2 separate regions of the Homo sapiens genome follow, and region 2 is linked to region 1. The links are contacts of gene promoters, found by promoter capture Hi-C in human tissues and cell types (Jung and others, 2019). All regions are on one chromosome and are shown on one strand. The core of a region is centred on a gene start or on the middle of the fragment in contact, and the rest is flanking DNA. Distances in the headings are between cores, read along the strand shown. Region 1 holds the start of GABRA4 (gamma-aminobutyric acid type A receptor subunit alpha4). Region 2 overlaps GABRA2 (gamma-aminobutyric acid type A receptor subunit alpha2).

What was found. Contacts are between HindIII fragments. The study calls those that stand out against the background at their distance.
Region 2: a fragment that was not itself captured here is called in contact with the fragment with the promoter of GABRA4 in region 1 in 1 of the 25 tissues and cell types used here (dorsolateral prefrontal cortex).

What each region holds. Positions count from the first base shown.
Region 1 is chr4:46,991,264-46,995,188 of GRCh38, reverse strand. GABRA4 (gamma-aminobutyric acid type A receptor subunit alpha4) reads left to right here and starts at 1,608. Exons shown (of 9, transcript NM_000809.4): 1 at 1,608-1,850; 2 at 2,243-2,361. The coding sequence starts at 1,765. It also overlaps a transcript of GABRB1 not described here. RefSeq lists an enhancer at 1,152-1,221 and a silencer at 1,383-1,677. The HindIII fragment of the contact is 6,154 bases long and covers 1-2,824 here.
Region 2 is chr4:46,319,308-46,323,232 of GRCh38, reverse strand. All of the region lies in intron 4 of GABRA2 (gamma-aminobutyric acid type A receptor subunit alpha2), which reads left to right. Among named protein-coding and RNA genes, the nearest start is that of GABRA2, 69 kb to the left of the region's middle. The HindIII fragment of the contact is 4,076 bases long and covers 224-3,925 here.

The sequences.
Region 1 (3,925 bases), core at 359-2,858:
ATTGTTCATTCAATAAATATTTATTGACATTCTATGTGCCATGCACTGTAACAGCAGATAAAATAAACACAGATGAGCAAAAATTACCTAGCCCAGGCCCTCAGAGAGACCACAGTCTATGAGAAAAGAATGATAGAGATGGGATTAGGATGAAGTTAACAAATTCCATGAAGAAAGCAGTACAGAATACAGAGCACGGAGCTCTAGCTACTGCCCACGATGAGCACTTTGGGCTTTCCCTTAGAAAGAAAACTTGAATCCAGACGTTTAAAACACACAAAAAAACCAAAACCCCTGTCTAATACAATGCGTTCCCTCTTCATACCCGTCCACTAGTCATCTCAATTTGAACAAATCATCAGAGTTCCGACTAGAACCTAATTGGTGTTTGGTTCCAAGGTATGGGAATTACTTAGCTCATTGATCCATCATATGAAAATTTCCACATGCATCATTACTAATTTGAAAGACGCTTTTCCCCCTTGGAGCCAATAATTAATGTTTCCAAAGATCTATTGGGAATGCTTATCTTTGCTCAGTAAAACAGTAAAGATATGGAGCTTAGTGTTCCCTTTCATGTCACAAGGGAACTAATATTTGTCCCCCTCCATTTTAATTTATGTATCCTTTCTCTCCATACCCCACCTTCTGCCTCTCTCTCTCTCTCTCTCTCTGTCTCTCTCTGTCTCTCTCTCTCTCTCTCTCACACACACACACACACACACATTTTCTCTTTCCCCCCCCACTCTCTCTCCAGCCGTCCTTTCCCCCTACCTAAAGCAGTCAACCTCTGGAAGTAAGTCAACTCCATTCTGAAAAAGAAGAGTGTCGCAAGAAGTGAAAGTGATTTTGACCAGAGGTCGCTTGTCTCCACCTCTCCCCTCCTCTCCAGAAAAGGATGGAGCAGCAAAGCGGAGGGTGTGCGCGTGTCTGGTGGAGGCGGGTAAAGAAATGGGGTGTCTTTAAAGCAATAGCTTAGCAAATACTGGGACTAGAGTGCGGCTCGAGTCCACTTCCCAATAGTTTGGCGAGAGTCCGCCGGGTGAGCTGCAACCCCTGTTACCAGGAAGAATCTTTCTGCTTTCATTGCTCTCCCTACCGCCCCCCATAACACCTGAATGGGAGGGTCTCAAAGGTGGTTTGAGCCCGGACTTGATCCCCTCTCCTCACCACCGCTACCACCCGACGCCCAGCAGTCCCCGTCACCCGCCCTTTCTCCACCTCCAACCTTGACTCTGGGTACAAACAGGTCCTCGCACAACCTGATGACAGAGGAGCTTCATTGGTTAGATCCAAATCCCAGCGGAAGGGAGGGGGCCAGGAGGTAGGAGGACGAACACTGCTGTGGGCGGGGAGCCCACTTGGGGTCGGGGGCTGCGAAGCCGGAGGAGGGGCGAGAGACCCCGTTCCTCATCCCCGGAGTTACAGTCGGAACAAACTTGCCGAGTCTTGCAGCGCAAGCGCGCGGATACGAACCCCAGAACCTTCAGCGCGCGGGCACGAAAGGGTGTGGAGCGGTATACATAGCTCTACATACACATTGAGCGCTGAGCGAGAAAGGAGGGGGCGAGGAAGGCAGGTTCCGCCTCCCCTGGCCCCGTGCACACACACGCCCACCGCGGCTCGGGCTGGCTGAGCGCGGGCGAGTGTGAGCGCGAGTGTGCGCACGCCGCGGGAGCCTCTCTGCCCTCTCCTCGCACCCTGCTCAGGGCATCTGAAGAGCCTGGAAACGTGAACAGGCTTGAAGTATGGCATGTTGCAAAGATGGTTTCTGCCAAGAAGGTACCCGCGATCGCTCTGTCCGCCGGGGTCAGTTTCGCCCTCCTGCGCTTCCTGTGCCTGGCGGTTTGGTGAGTTCTCTGGGGTGCGAGGAGGTGGGCAACGGAAAGTGGAGAAATGGCTAGCTCCGGGACCCCTTTGGCCACTCGCTCCTCCCTGGGTGGACTAGGTCTTCTTATCTCAGCTGTAAGAGCAGGGGCCGAAGCCAGGCTTTTCTGTGACCGCATAGATGCGGAGAGCACCAAGGGCGCAGGATCCAAGAGGCGTGTGGGCACTGGGGGTCTTGCGGCGGGGCGCGCTTTTCCTGACCATTTCTGTCTTCTGCATCCCAACCCCCAACCTCCTCTCCTTTAGCTTGGGGCAAGCGACTCTTTCCCTAGAAAACAAACCTGTTTGCACCTGTTCTCTGATGGATTCTTAAAATAATCTCCTCCGCCCCCGGTTTTTTTTTTTTCGCTTGCAGTTTAAACGAATCCCCAGGACAGAACCAAAAGGAGGAGAAATTGTGCACAGAAAATTTCACCCGCATCCTGGACAGTTTGCTCGATGGTTATGACAACAGGCTGCGTCCTGGATTTGGGGGTATGAACGATTTCAAACGCGCAAGTGTGTCCTGTCTGTCCCTCTCTTGGTCTTCCTGTCTGTCTGTCTGTGGGAATATCATTAGGTATGCCTCACGTGCAAAAATAAATCTCTCTCTCTTTCTATCTCTCCTCTCTTGGTGAGACCTATGACAAGAAGACCGCCTCCACCCGTACTTTCCCATCTCCCTGCCCCCTCAGAAGCTTTGCCTCTCCCCCACACTAATTACCTCCCGGGACCTGACTGCTGGGTGGGGGAGGTTGGAGAGGAAGAGTCAAAAATGGGAACTCTGGGCTCAGCTGCCTGGACGCTCTTCGCTGAGAATAGTTTCCCTGAACCTGGCCACTTCGCTCAGAGCAGGTTGCATTGGAGGCAGCTGAACCGAAGTCCCTCATCCTCCCACGTGTCCATGCCTATGCCAAAACCTTGGCCAATGTTCTACCTGGGACATAAATCTGGGGCATGAAGCTGCCTGCTCTGCTAGAGAACCCAGTCCTTTCCTTTTCTCTTCTACAGCAGGATGCTTTTCTTTTTTCCCTTTCTTTTTTGGTGATGTGTCATTTGCTTTCCTCCTAAGACTTTAAAGTTAGAGATGTTCCAGCTTGCTTTCTTCAACAAAATAAGTATAAAGGACTTAATAGAGGTACATCCATTAACAGCACTGTTGCTGTTTTTCATATTCATATTTCCTTTGCATATATAATGGAAATCTATGTGGCAAGCTTTGCGCTAGGTACTAGGTCCACAGAAATATTAAGATACAATTCTTAACCTCAAACAGCTTCTCAGTCCAGTTCAACGAGGACAAATGACTTGCTAGGGTCCCATTCATAGGTTTGGCCCAGGTCCTTTGATCTCAAAGTCCCTGTTTTTTACAGTACACTGCACTAATTACCCTTCAGCAACTGAGTTGAACAGGATAGAGATTCTGCCTTAAAGGAGCTTACATTCAAGTGGTAACAATAATAACAGCCAGTAATATTGTATTTATTTAATTAAATGTTCACATATACCAGGCATTTTGTAGGCATCACCACTCTGTTTAACCCTCACAACAAAGCTTTGAAAGCCATTACCATCCCCACTTTACAGATAAGGAAATTGAGTCCAAGTTCCAAGTTAGTAAGTAGGAGGAGAAGGATGTAAACCCAGAGCAGGCTGTGTATTTAAAAGACAAAGCCGTGCAGATGGGGATGGTATCAGATGCTGTGTGATGAGTATCATCTAATATTAGAAGCATGGAGCAACTTTATACCTCCTATTGAGGGTGTGTAGGAGATGACATGTTGGGAGAATGGAGAAAGTAAGAATGGGGAGCAGGACTGCCTGTGATGTGAAGTAGGAGTATGGCCTGGGGCTAGAAACTCTTTCTAGCCTTCACTTGAAATGTCAAGTTTAAAACCTTTATGGGCAGATAAAGTAGAGTTGGGTGTTTCTTTGGCATCTGGTCTCATTTAACAGATGGGGACACTGAGGTTTAGAAAGGGAAAGTGATGTATATAAGGGCACATAGTACATCAATGATAGGATGAGATCAGGTCTTCTGAATTCCAAACCATTATTT
Region 2 (3,925 bases), core at 1,012-3,511, 670 kb after region 1:
CCAGACCATAAAGGCCATAAAGACTAAGAAGACCATAGTGACCCCGTAAAAAGTTATAGCGATATGCCCAAATGATACTTTAAAACATGATGCTTTCTGTTACCAGACAAATTATAATTGCATGCCTTTTTTGGTATGTGTTGACTTTCTTTAAAATATAATTATTATACTATATACATTCTGTAAAAGACAACAATATTTAAAAATAACTATTATAGTTAAAATATAACTATTTTATAAAATATAACTATTTATATAACTATAAAGTATATTGGTGATTAGTTTAACATAGTTACCTAGATGCACGCGTGCAAACACACAAATGAAAGTCACTTGACACCTGCGAATTTAAGGATTAGGGTATTGTTTGCAGATTGCTGCCATAAGACATCTGAGAGCTTTTCTGCCATCTGCCTCTGCTAATGATGCCTTTCTTCTTATGTCTCATCAGAAACATTATGGCTCAGTATCCTTCATACTACATTAAATTTACAATGACTCCCCTTATTCATTTATTCATGGGCAAAGTATTGTTTATTTCCTATGTTCCAAGTAGCTTTTTAGATGCCGGTGACACAGCATTGAAGAAGGTGGTCACGATTCTTGTTCTCAGTGTGGACTAAAAGTTGTCCAGATATAGGGAGGGGATAGAGAAGACTGATCAACAGAGGTTAGTGAGTTTGCATAGTAAAATGCAGCATGATAAATCAGAGGCCTGACACATACTTATGTCATTATTGTGGCAGCATAGAGGGGTGCATGTGTTGGGGCGTGGGTGTGTGGATGTGGTGGGGGATTATTGTAGGGTGGCTAGAGAAGTAGAGAGGAAGAGATCGTGCAGGGCCTTGGAGGCTGTGAGAGTGTTTTTACTTCACCCCCAGGGCTTTAGAGATTCAGGTGACTGAAATCAGCAAGATTTTATTATTTCAAACTCCCTTTCTCACATTACGGCAATGCTTCAGTGCATACCATAGCTTAAAGAGTCCAGTCCAGACTAATTTCAGCATCAGTCTCTTAGGCCATCTAGATGTTCTGTCCTTTTCCATGCCTTTTTCACAGGTAAGGGATATACTGTGGAGACAGGCCAAGATCTACTCTTCCTCTTCTTTTTCTGTGTTTTTCAAAGTTGATGCAATGGTAAGGGAGAGTAGTAAAACGGGAACATACATTTTTACTGAACTGGTTCTATTGGTAGTTCTCTGTTAGCAATATATGCCGTTTGTATGGTTGGTGGATGAATACTGGATCTCCCATGGGGCATACTTGTGATGTCTTCTCAGTGACCTCCTTATTGCAGTCACCAAAAACACAGGTGGCTTATTCTCCAATGGCATTCTTTGTGGTATCCTGTGTGGCCTCTGCCTCTGGAACTTTATGACCTTTAATTGCTGGTTGTCTCTACCTTGTCTGGCCACCCTTTTGTTGAGTATGGGGAGAGGGAGAAGGATCTTTTGAAGATGATTTATGCCAGACTATCTTCCTTGGTGTCCAACCATTTTCTGAGAACTTTGCAAATATTATCTCACTTCATCCTTACAAGAGTCCTAGGAAGTAACTTCTATTTTTCTTACCATTTTACAGATAAGTCAACTGATATAAAGAAAGGTTAGCCAACCTGCTCAAAGCCAGGTACCCTGATCTACCCGACTTGAGAACTTGTGTTTTAACATCTATTTCTTATTACTTAATATGTATCATTATGATTATTTGATTTTGTGTTTGAGTTAGTTTTAATTGTGAAAAGATTTTTTATTATGCACATTTAAGATGTACATTATATTTTAGTGCACTTATAATAGTAAGTGGCTACTACAGTCAAGTAAAATTAACATATCCATCATCTTGCATAGTTTACTTTTTTTCCAGTAAGAGCACTTACATTTCCAGTATACAATAATTATAGTCGTTATGTTTTACCTTAGATCTGTAGACATTCATCCTATGTATCTAAGCTTTATACCCTTTGATTGACACCTCCCCATTTTTTCCCTCTTCACATCCCACCGCAGTAACTGCCAACATTTTATTCTATGTATTCAAACAACCAACGTACCTTTCTCTCTTCCTTTTTTCCACATGTAAGTGAGATCATGCAGTATTTTCCTTCTGCGTCTGACTTATCTTACTTAGTATAATGCCCTCCATGTTTATCTATATTGTTGCAAATGATGGGATCTCCTTTTCTAAGGCTGAATAGAATTTCATTGTACATATATATTATGTTTAAATAATTTATTCATGCATTGACGGACACTTAGATTGTTTTTGTATATTGGGTATTGTGAATAATGCTACAATGAGCATGTGAATGCCAATATCTTTAAAGGTCATGATTTCATTTCTCTTGGGTATATACCTAACAGAAAGATTCTGCTTTTAACATTTTGAGGAATATCAATATTGTTTTCCCTAATGGATACACCAATTTACATCCCCACCAACAGTGTACATGGATTCCCTTTTATCTACACCCTGGCCAACACTCGTTATCTCTTGTCTTTTTGATAATAACCATCCTAACAGGTGTGAGGTGATATTGATTTTAATTTGTAATTCTTTGATGATTAGTGATGTTGAGCACCTCTTTATATACTTATTGACCATTTTGTGTTTTTATTGGAGAACTGTCGATTCAGATTCTTTACCTATTGAGTTGTGTGAATTCCTTATGTATTTTGGATATTAATCTCTTATCAAATATATAATCTGCAAGTATTTTCTCCCAATCCATAAGGCTACCTTTATATTTTGTTGATTGTTTCCTTTGCTGTACAGAAGCTTTCTAGTTTGATGTATGTCGACTTGTTTATTTTTACATTTGTTGCCTGAGCTTTTGGAGTGATGTTCAAAACACTCATTGCCAAGATCAATGTCAAAGAGCCTATCTTCTCTTCTAGGAGTTTTATAGTTTCAGGTCTTACCTTTAGGTCTTTAGTCTGCCTTGAGTTGATTTTTGTGTATGGGATAAGATAGATGTCCAATTTAATTCTAGTGCATATGGCTATTCAGTTTTTCCAACATCAGGTTTTGAAGAAAATACCCCTTTCAGAAATTCCAAAACTCCAGTCTCAGCCCTACAACTTAGTTCTTCCTGTAACTTCTCATAAGCCATGAGTAATGTCCATTTATTGATCTATGAAAGAAGGAAATTTTATTCTGATATTCTGCCTTCAAGGGTTGTTTTATGTATGGTATAATGAAAAGACCATGGTATTTAGAAACACAGAATTTGAGACCAAATCTTGCCTCTCTGTCTTTTTTTTAAGTAAATATTGCTTTTGAAGTATTTTCCACTTGTGAAATTGGTATAATTTTGCATATGCAATGAGGATGTTATGAATTTTAAATGACACATATTATATCAAAGTAAATTGCTGTCTACTATAACTATGAATCATATTGAATACTTCTATTATATATATTTTAATTATCTTCTGTTAAAATATGAATCTTTAGTAACATTTTCTAATTTGTTAGTGAAATTTGCCTGGCCCCTAGTTCCAAAAAGAATGCCCAAACATCTTACCTCCACAATGTTTTGAATGTGCAGTAGCTATGTTGTTCTGCAACTGTAGTTTGGTGAACTTCTTTGTATAATAAGGCTTGTACTAATTGGGTTTACTGGCCCTTTGCTGATCTGTTCTTAAGATTCTCATTGTTTTTGCAATTTTTGCAATGCAAATACTGTGCTAAATTGTTATCTAGCCCCGTTTGAGTACCAACTGAAAGTATTCGAGCTTCATTATTCTTGTGTATTCCAAGAGTGATATTTTTTACATTGTTGCATACCTGCTTCATAGACTACATGTTCTTCATTATAGAAGAAACACACTGATTGGAATTTACTCAAGGGAGACTAGCCTTTATTAGCCACAAGAGTATAATGTAATAAGTAAATAAATGTAGAAAATCAAAGTAAATGAGA